Linked DNA regions of Homo sapiens: region 1 is linked to region 2. Evidence: promoter capture Hi-C in human tissues and cell types (Jung and others, 2019). All regions are on one chromosome and are shown on one strand. The core of a region is centred on a gene start or on the middle of the fragment in contact, and the rest is flanking DNA. Distances in the headings are between cores, read along the strand shown.

Region 1 (5,271 bases), core at 2,772-5,271, 170 kb after region 2:
AGGCCATCACAACCTTATATGAAAACTACTTCTGCAAGGACATCTGCCCAGCAACTGCCTATAGAACCTCACAGTGGCATCATTCTGGCTATTGATCTTTGTAGCTAGTTTTTTTTTTTTTTTTTCAAAATGACTAGATAATAATCCCAATTTTTTCCTTTAAAAACTCGAATATGTAGATCATTTTACTATGGCACATGCATTTCCATTGAAATGTGCTACTCCCAAATAAACATCAGTTTCTCATAGAAAGCCTCACTCTGTTTGTTACCATATATGGTGTCAGAAGTGGGATCTGGGAAAGATCACTATCAGAAGAAATCTGTGATCTTTGAACCAGTGTGCACTACTCACTTGAGAAGTTTGAGCTCTCTGCTTCCACACTCACCTTTCCTGCCCTGACAAGTCTTTGCTCAAGCAGAGCCTCTTTTTGGTAGAAGCTCTTGACTTTATTTGGAATCTGATTTGGATAAGGCTGCCTTAGTAAAAGACCATACATTTCTCCTGGGATGATAAAAAAAAAAAAAACTTTTTGTCTTTTCTAGCAAGTCCTTTCTGAGAGAAAGGCGTATATCTTTCTAGATCACGTACTCTGGATTCTACAAAATTTACATTCTGCCTGTGAGGCAAGTCTATTCTGGTGAATTTACTTCCATTTTGGCCTGTGTGCCTAATTTAAATACTTTAAAAATCTGCATGCCTGGGTTAAAATTCTTGTGAATGCTCTTATCTGGATTTCTTTTTATTTGGTTTGACTCTTTTCCCCTTGCTTGCTTCTGAAAATCATCCCAGAACACAAAAAAATAGACATTCTAAATGACGGGCACAAAATGGCTAATTAACAGCCACTAGCGTGGTTGCCACCATCTAAAACACTGGTACAAATGCCTGACATTCTCTGGCAGGATTTGTAAAATTTTCTTCACTTTCAAGAGATTAATAAGAAATGGAATGGGGCTCTCAAGCATTAAGGCATGCCAGGTTTTCTGGGGCTCCAGCTGGCTACATTTTATGGTTCTTTCTTGTGCACATTTTAAAGTTTATGAGCAAAATTACATCAAGGAAAATTCAGTACTCAATGATCATCATTCAACCTGTTTTAAAAAGCCCTGCATCTATAGGGTGGAAATGTAGAGTCTTCTAAATTCTCTATTTTTTTTTCTCTACCTACTTTGAATCTGCTGACTTTTCTACTGGTGTTGAGATAAAACTCACTGCTTATGGCATTCTAGCCCAGAGTTTTAAAAAAGAAATCTTGAAGGGCTTTAAAATTAATGGCTTTACAAATTAAACAACTCCATGATAAGAAACAACTTAGACACCTTTAGGAAATGTAAATTTAAGTTTGTCTAACTAATAATTGCTTATAATGGAGCACAATTAAAAATCAATAATTAAAAAAATACATGGTTATAAAAGTTAGGCTCTCAGATCATACAGGTCAAAATCTTGAACTCAGAGCAATAATTTAAGGTGTCTCTGTCCGACATAAACTTTTTTCTTCTTTTGCCATGCAGAGGCAAAAAAGAAAAAGCCAGGAAAAAAAGCTAAAATCCTTCCTCATCCACATTTGTTAATCAAGCAAACCACATCACCACCACCCGCCCCCCTCCAACCCACACAAAAAATCTAGTTTAAGGCTAGTTGGAGATTTTTTTTTCTTATACAATTCAGCCAGTTCTAGCTAAAGTGTAAGCAATTGAAAATTTAATCCTAAACTCATGTGAAACAGAAAAAAAAAAGATGCTGAAACTGTAGAGGTTTCATTTGTTTATTTGTTTATAAGTTACACTGCCATTAGAAACTGCTTTACCCAAAATATTTCCCCCAGCCTTCATTATATTACCTATAGGGGCAAATAAAGTTTATCCATGTTAACGATTCCAATTTGTCAGAAATACAATTGGATCCAGTTGACTTTAATCAACTAGTGAGTTTGTATTACTATCTCATCACTAAAATTCTAAAATGAAAGCTGTAAGATTTTTATTTGTTTGTGGATATGTGTTTAGGTGTGTTTTTGCATATGTACATGTATTATGGTCTATATTGTGTCTACATGACAAAATCCACCTTAGTTGGCCAGAAACGCCTTAATAAACTCTATTTGCATTTCCTTAGAGAAATGAGCATAAGAACATGGCTTTTACCCTAGTAGCATCGGGAGGGAATTCAGGGTCTTTCTAACAGTGAGGGGCAAACCCAATTCATTCCCTGACATCATTCACTGACATTCCCTCCAGGCTCTAACATATGTCTTTCTCACAAACACACCAAAACTGACACAAACTCCGGATATTCGATCCCAGGTGGATCTTCCACCAGGGCAGAATGACCACAAGAAAGTCAGGGAGTGATTCCCCAGCCTCGAGATCCCCAGTATTTGGGACATCTGCCTATGGTCCCTGCAGACATTTCACCAGGGGATCCAGGGGAACTTCTCCTGCAGGAGGGGACAGGATAACCCAGGATCTGCCTTTGTTTCCATCTCAGAGGGACTGAGGGTCACGGGGCCTCCCCTGCTCTAATACAGGAACCAGGTATCCCTTGCAGCCTGCAGGTAGGAGCTGCCCCAGCTCCTGGGCCCTGTGGAGAGGCCTGGGGCAGGTGACAGACAGGGACACAGATGACCTGGAGGCGGAACTCCCAGTGTTGTGATGGAGGAACACAGAACACACCGAGGACCACCTCCCAGGCCAGTGCCCTCTCTCTAAACCCCCAGAGACACCTCCCTGGGCCCTTCTTTTGAAACCTTGGGGACGGATGGCTCTTTCTGAGGCAGCCCATCCGCCTGCAGGACAGTTCTCCCAAATCAGGACCAGGAGTGCTCTGGACAACTCTCGTCCTCTCCCTGAGCTCATCCTGCACTGCATGGAGTTGGACATCCTGGGGACCCACAGTGAACAGGACCAAGGATGACCTGACCCTGCAGTCTGGAGGTCAGAGCCCACCTCTGCCCAGGGGCCAGGGCCAACTCATACCACGTGGACCCTGGTCAGCATCCCTGGGGAAGCCCCTGACTTTTACCACAGGGTTCCTCTTGCTCTCCAGGGGCAACATTGCACGCAGACAACACAGGAAATGGATTCCCCTGGACAGGAATCTGGCTTTGCTAAGGAGGTGGAGGTGAAGCCTGGTTTCCATACTTTGCTCCAGCAGGCCCTTCCAGTCCCTCCCATGTGCCTGCTCTGTCTCTCCTGATCCTTCCTGGAGCCTCTGAGGATCCTGCTCTGCCAGGATTCTCTGCTCAGTTCTCCACTTTCTCCTGGTATCATGCATGGGGAAGGTACAGTGACAACAGGACAATCACCTTCACAGAGGACAGAGGCCACCCGGGATGGTAAGGGAGAACATGCACAGGCCCTAAGCCACAGCTCAGCCAACAGAAACGGAGAGGGAGGATCTCCCTGAATCCCTCCTCAAGGACAGCAGAACCCAGAGCCACCCACCTCCCTCCACCACAGTCCTCTCTTCCCAGGACATGCAGGACACCTCCCTCCACATCCAGGAGCTGGGGATCCTCCTGAGACCCCCAGGCCTGGATCTCTGTCCCTGGGTCAGAGGCAAGGCTGGTGACACTGGAGAGAGAGGACTGGTCCCCCCCGTAGTCGCCCCCCATTTTCTATCCCACAGAGCCACCTCTGTCACCTTCCTGCTGGGTATCATCTCACACTCCCTGAGTATTGGGGAGCATGAGGAGACCTGGGGGCCCAGCTGGGTCTCTGTGTCACAAAAGGAAACAGTTCCCCAAGTTTGGGAGACCCCAGAGTACCTCTGTTTGTGGTGACATTCCCAAAGGGTCAGTGCAGGGGTGACAAGTCACCCTCTCTGGGGACAGGGGACTCCACCAACCCTGCTTCTCAAAGTGTGGTTAGGAAACTGTAATGTACACAGAAGAGAAAGGGGAAGGAGGGACAAAAAAGGCAGAAATGAGAGGGGAGGGGCAGAGGGGTGACCTGGGAAGAGCCCCGCCTCTGCCCCTGGCCCTGGGAAGTGCTTCTGCCCGGGAGGAGGCTCAGCACAGAAGGAGGAAGGTCAGCAGCCCCGACAGCCGACAGTCACAGCAGCTCTGACAAGAGCGTTCCTGGAGCCCAGCTCCTCTCCACAGAGGACAAGCAGGCAGCAGAGACCATGGGCCCCCCCTCAGCCGCTCCCCGTGGAGGGCACAGGCCCTGGCAGGGGCTCCTGATCACAGGTGAGGGGAGGACTCTCTGGGAGTGGTGGGAAGAGGGAGCACAGAGACTGACTGGGGTCTCTTGGGTAGGAGGGGATAGAGGGCTTCTGGCTGGGGTCTCCTGGGGCTCTGAGAGGGGACTGAGGGCCTCTGTTGGAGGCTGGATAAGGGAGAGAACATCAGAGAGGGGCAGGGGTCACAACAGGAAAATCTCAGTGAACTGGAATTGGTAAAAGGCAGGAAAATCTCAAGTGTTCTCTCGTCCTGGTTAATCATCACTGGCCACTACATTTTGAAAAATGATAATAACTATACCAGATGACACTTCAAATAAAAACATAACCAGGGCATAAAACACTGCTCTTAGCCAACAACCTCAGACACTGGGAAATAAACCTCAGGACTTGGAGGCCCTGAGAATGCTCATGAACTCATCTACAGGAGTCTGCAGCCTGTGCCAGGCACTGGGGTGCAACCAAGATCACACAAGTCCCCGCCCTCACAGAGCTCACGCTCTCATGGGGAGGAAGACAAACACCTAAAGAGATCTAGAATGTGAGGTCAGGTGCTGACAAGAGCCCTGGAGGGAACAGAGCTGGGAAAGGTCAGAAAGGGAAGACCCAGGGTCTCTAGAGGAGGTGTCAGGGGAGGGGTCTCCCAAAAACACCCTGATGTGAGCAGGATCTGAGGGCAGTGGGGAGGGAGCCGTGCAGACCCCTGGGGAAGAAGATTCCACCAGGGAAATGCCAAGGTCCAAGCTGTTGAAGGAATGGGGGTCATGCTGCTGACCCAGGGACACACACACACACACACACACACACACACACACACACACACACACACACACACACACACACTCCAAGGCTGAGGGATGAGGAGACCTGCTGAGGACCCAGGGCCTTATCTTTCCATCCCACTCCATAGGTCCCAGTATTGACTGATGCTGTCTTCACCTCCTAGCCTCACTTTTAACCTTCTGGCACCCGCCCACCACTGTCCAGTTCACTATTGAAGCCCTGCCGTCCAGTGCTGCAGAGGGAAAGGATGTTCTTCTACTGGCCTGCAATATTTCAGAAACTATTCAAGCCTATTATTGG
Region 2 (5,587 bases), core at 534-3,033:
GGAGTCAGGAATCTGGGACAGGGATTTGCACAGGGGCTCAGTTCTGGGAAGAGTTGAGCTTCTCTCTGAGAATCCTAGGGGGACCCCTCAGGCCAGGCCCTGATCCAGTTCTCCAGGGTCTTTCTTAGGGTCAGGTCCATGGGGAGACCATGGGGTTCTTTTCTGACACTGACCTTGCCCTGCTGAGTCCCCCCATCAGACTGTCCTTCCTCTGCAGCGAGTGTCTGCAGGGTCTGGATGCAGGAAAGGAATTCTGATCTGTGGAAGTTTGTCTCCCCCGTGTGTGTCCTGCACTAAATGTCCAAACCCTGATACAGAATGTAATGCAGAGAGGGCCACAGGCACAGCCCAGGCCTGACAATCCCATATGTGGGAAGTAGAACTGACCCCCAACACCCAGAGGTCATGTGGAAATACTCACGGTATACATGGAACTGTCCAGTTGCTTCTTCATTCACAAGATCTGACTTTATGACTTGTAGGGTGTAGAATCCTATGTCATTCTGGGTGACATTCTGGATCAGCAGGGATGCATTGGTGTATATTGTCTCTCGACCGCTGTATGCGGCCCCTGGGGTAGCTTGTTGAGTTCCTATTACATATCCTACAATTAGACTGTTGCCATCCACTCTTTCCCCTTTGTACCAGCTGTAGCCAAAAAGATGCTGGGGCAGATTGTGGACAAGTAGAAGCACCTCCTTCCCCTCTGCGACACTGAGCGGCATGGATTCAATAGTGAGCTTGGCAGTGGTGGGCGGGTTCCAGAAGTTTAGAAGTGAGGCTAGGAGGGAGAAAGCATCAGTCAATATTGGGACCCATGTATTGGGATGGAAAGATGGGGCCCTGGGTCCTGAGAGAGTCTCTTCACCCTTCAGCCTTGGAGAGTGTATGTGTGTCCCACTTGGTCAAGGTCAGTAACGTGACCTTTCTTTCTTCAGCACCTCTAACCTTGGCATTTTCCTGTGTGGAATCCCCTTCCCCAGGGGTCTGCATGGCTCCCTCCCCACTGCCCTCAGATCCTGCTCACATCAGGGCATCCTTGGGAGATCCCTCCCCTGACACCTCCTCTAGAGACCCTGGGTCTTCCCTTTCTGACCTTTTTCTGCTCTGTTCCCTCCAGGGCTCTTGTCAACACCTGAACTCACATTCTAGATCTCTTTGGGTGTCTATCTTCATCTCTGCAAGAGTGTAAGCTCTTTGAACACAGAGACTTGTCTGATATTTGTTGTACGCCAGTGCCTAAAATTTGATTGCAAATACTGGTGGATGAGTTAAGGAGTGGTGGTTATTTTGCAACTTGTGGTTGGTGGTCAAAGACAGGTTTTAGTGCCCTGGTTATATTTTTATTTAAAGTATCACCCTGATGTAATTCTTATTCTTATCATTTTCTAATTGTAGTGGCCAGTAATGATTAACTTGGAAAACATGATCAATGGATTTTCCTCCCTCTTATCAATCCCAGTTCAATGTGATTGTCTTGTTGTGACCCGTGTCCCTCTCTGATGTTCTCTCCCCTGAGGCTTCAGCAGAAGCCTTCTGTCCCCTATCAGAGCCCCATCCTCCCCAGGAGACCCCAGCCATTCTCTGTGATCCCTCCTCTTGCCCACTCCCAGGAATCCTCCACTCACCTGTGAGCAGAAGCCCCTGCCAGGGGATGCATTCTCTGTGGGGAGAGGCTGAGGGGGGCCCCATGGTCTCTGCTGCCTGCTCTTTCCTCCTCTGTGGAAAAGAGCCTGGGCTCCAGGAATGCTGTAGTCAGGGCTACTGTGACTTAGGCTCTGCTGTCCTTCCTCTTTCCATGCTGAGCCTCCTCCCAGGGCAGGAGCACTTTCCAGGGTCATGGGTGAAGCTCTGCCCAGGTCACCTCTCTGTCCCCTCCCCTCTCAGTTTTGCCTCATTTTCTCTTCTTCCTTTCTCCCTTCTGTCTACATTTGAGTTCCCCAGACCAGGCTCTGAGAAGCAAGGCTTACTTGGATCCCTGTTTCATAACAGGATGACCCTCCCTCCCCAGCGTGGACCTCTGCTCTGCCTTGGCCTTGGGTCTGTCAGCACCATGCAGAGTCCCTGGGGTCCCTGAACCTGGTGTTATTTTCTCTGTGACGGAGAAACTCCTTTGTGTGTGCAGGGTCTTCTTACTGTTCTCACATGTCTGGGAAGGTTGGATTTACTCCCAGCAAGGAGGTCACAGAGATGTCTGGGGTCCTACAAATGGATATATCTAGGGCTAAAGCCCGGATCTAAGATTCTGAGCTGTTCTTTCTGCAGCATTATGTGACTCTAATTTCCTGGGAGTAACTGAGAATGAGGCTTCACAGTGCTGTAGCTTTATGTCATCCAGACACCAGACATTTCTAGGCTGACTTTATGATTTTCTCTCTAGCTTGTACCACCTTTATTATTATATATTTCATCCTTTTTTCTAAATAAATTTAGTTTACAAAACATCCTGTCCTAGCAGGGATCGGTGGCTCAGATCTGTGATCCCAGCTACTCGAGAGGCTATGGTGGGAGGATGGCTTGAGGCCAGGAGTTGGAGACAAAACATCCTTGTCTTATGCAATATTGTCCATGAAATTACAGATTTGATGTGTGCTTAAATGTTTTCTCAATGTATATTAAAATAAACGCATAAGTATTAAAGTTTTTAAAAAGCTTACTTACGTTTCGCCTAAAATCAGTTTTTGGAAATGCTGACACAGTGGCATAAACATGAACTTTATGTCCAGATGTACCTGGGGACAGCTAATGGTTCTGTCACTTAACTATGTTGACTTGGACAAGTCACGTGGCTTCTATGATCCTTGATTCCCTGATTTGTAAAAGGAGGATGGTAAAATCCTCCTTGCAGAGTTGTTGGGAATAAGTGAGCTGCTGTGGGAGCCCCGTGCCCAGGCGGGTGTTGAGTACATGGTGGTTGTCATCGTGGTTATTGCTGTGGAATTCTGGTTTTCAAAGAGTGTCTACGCCGGAATATTGGGCTTGTGGCTTTCTGCTGATGTGGATGTGTGAAAAAGCTACTTTTGCTTGTTAGAACTTGTGGTGCATCTGTCATTATTTTCATTTCCCAGTTCCACTACCTATTTTCTCTGTGATGTTGGTCAAGTTGCCTAACTTTTCTGTGCCTCATTTACCTAATTTGTGAAATGTGGGTAACAGTACACTAGTGTGGGTGTGTTATTTCCCAGCTCTGACCACTAGAGGGCATAGAAGCACCGGCACCTACTAGCAATGGGCATATGGGCGCCCATGGTCTGTAAACATCATTCTCCCATGAAAGGAACCAGGGTTCCCTGGAGAAATGGCTGATTCCAGGGCTGGGGCAGGAAACCACAAGAGGAGACTGGAGCATCTTGCGGGGCCTGAGAGTAAGGCACAACTTGAAAAATGATGGGGATGTGTGGAAAGTATCACAAATGCCAACTAGAAGAAGCTCCCAATGGCCAATTTGGGGACAATATAGCAACATAATCAATAATAATAGTAATGTAGTCCAACCGATAAATACTTGAGAGTCCATGCTGATATATATATAAATAAGTGAATACATAAATAAATGAGAAAGAAGAACTAGCTCTTTCTTACAGCAGCGTTCCAGTTAATCAGTGTAGAAGCAATGATGGAAGCAGAAAATCACTGGCTAACACCACAGTAAGAATTGTTTATCGGCTACAATTATCTCTGGATTCTAGAAATTAATTGGTAAAAGTATGCTAAGAACAAACTGGCTATTTGCATATTTCCAAAGTACCTGTCCACAAGATACTTATTAATTACAATGAGATGAATAGTAACTTCACAGTAGAGAAACCTGGCAGACACCACCTGAACCAAGCGCTTAAAGTGAACCTCATCGGTAATGAGAGATATAGACATCCTGGGGCTCCGGCTGGGATGTCCTGAGAAAGACACATCGCTTCTGTGCTAATCTTGCCCAAAATGCATAACCTGAAACATCCCAAGGAAACATGAGACAAACCCAAATTGAGGGGCATTCTACAAAACAACTGACCAGACCTCCTCAAAAGCATCAAGGTCCTGAGAGAGGGAAAGAGTGGGAAACTCCCCCAGGTTGGAGGAGGCCTAGGAAATGTGACAGTGTTATTCAGTGTGGGATCCTGGGTTGGACTCTGGAGCAGAAAAAAGACATGACTGGGATGATTAGCAAAATTTTAATATTTCTTTTTTTTTTTTTTGGAGACAGAGTCTCACTCTGTCGCCAAGGCTGGAGTGCAGTGGCTCGATCTGGGCTCACTGCAACCCCCACCTCCTGAGTTCAAGAGATTCTCCTGCTTCAGCCTCCCGAGTAGCTGGGATTACAGGTACCTGCCACCACGCCTGGCTAATTTTTGTATTTTTAGTAGAGACGGGGTTTCATCGTGTTAGCCAGGATGGTCTCGATCTCCTCACCTCGTGATCTACCCTCCTTGGCCTCCCAAAGTACTGGGATTAAAGGCGTGAGCCACCGTGCCCGGCCCCATATTTCTATATTTTAAAATTTTTTGTATCAATGCTAGGTGACTGATTTTGATAATTGCTTTAGAGTTAAGGTTATTTGAAAAAGCTGGATGAAGGATATACTGGAACTCTGACTATTTTTACAATATTTTTGAAAGTCTGAAAAATGAAAAGTAAAAAAATGTAAAATGCATAAGATTTCTGTGAGGATAAAATGAGATAAATGTGAAGTGCTTAGAACAATGCCTGAGACACAGGAGTTCTTAAAACATGTCAGCTATTATTATAAGTAATTTTATGATTAACAAGTAATATTATAAGTAATGAGTCATCTATTATAAATCATATAAAATATGATTTCTTTCATAATATCCTCATATATTCTCATCCATTTCTTTTTTCCCTCTCCCCTGTGAAAAGCATATTGAGCATGTATGTCATGAAAAGATAAAATAAGATTCGATTTTATTTTGAGAATTATTTTGGGGGATGAGGAGGAGTGTCATTTCCTCCAGCTACGAAGTAGCTCAGACTCAGGCCCACATTGCAAAGTTTGCTTGGCTGGGAAACAAAGCTGGAGCCTGGCGGCCACCCACCGACGTGGTTTATGATGGCGCCTCCTGGCGGCGCAGAGAACTTTCCGCAGTTCCTCACCCTCGTGCTTTAGGAGCGACTTAGAAATTCTACACAGTCCATTTATTAAACCCTTTCTAGGTCACGCTGCGGATCATTTAATCTTCACAACAAGATTGTGAGAAGGGATATTTATTCATCTTAAGACGATAAAACAGGGTAAAAAAAAGTGAAGCGACTTGTCAGGGTTGCAAAGGGAGTGACAGAGCTAGGATTTGGATCTAGGTCCCCCTGACTTCCAGGCTGAGTGTAAATGTTCAGGTGAGTCTGAATGTGTGGCCAGGTGGAGAACTATTGGTATAGAGTAGTGGTTGTGGACTGAGGGTGGTTTCCGCCCAGGGGACATTTGGCAATGTTTGGAGACATTTTTGGTTTTCATACCGGGGTGGGGACGGGAGAGAGGGAAGGCTGCTATTGGCATCTAGTGGAAAGAGGCCACGTGGATGCTGCTGAGCGTCTCACAATGCACAGAACAGCCCCCACCGCAAGGAACTGTTCA

Evidence for each region. Contacts are between HindIII fragments. The study calls those that stand out against the background at their distance.
Region 1: a contact is called between the fragment with the promoter of CEACAM4 here and the fragment with the promoter of CEACAM3 in region 2, in 1 of the 25 tissues and cell types used here (H1 embryonic stem cells).

What each region holds. Positions count from the first base shown.
Region 1 is chr19:41,625,824-41,631,094 of GRCh38, reverse strand. CEACAM4 (CEA cell adhesion molecule 4) reads left to right here and starts at 4,021. Exons shown (of 7, transcript NM_001817.4): 1 at 4,021-4,195; 2 at 5,135-5,271. The coding sequence starts at 4,132. The HindIII fragment of the contact is 12,628 bases long and covers 1-5,271 here.
Region 2 is chr19:41,792,783-41,798,369 of GRCh38, reverse strand. CEACAM3 (CEA cell adhesion molecule 3) reads right to left here and starts at 1,783. Exons shown (of 7, transcript NM_001815.5): 1 at 1,629-1,783; 2 at 422-781. The coding sequence starts at 1,692. The HindIII fragment of the contact is 7,198 bases long and covers 1-4,721 here.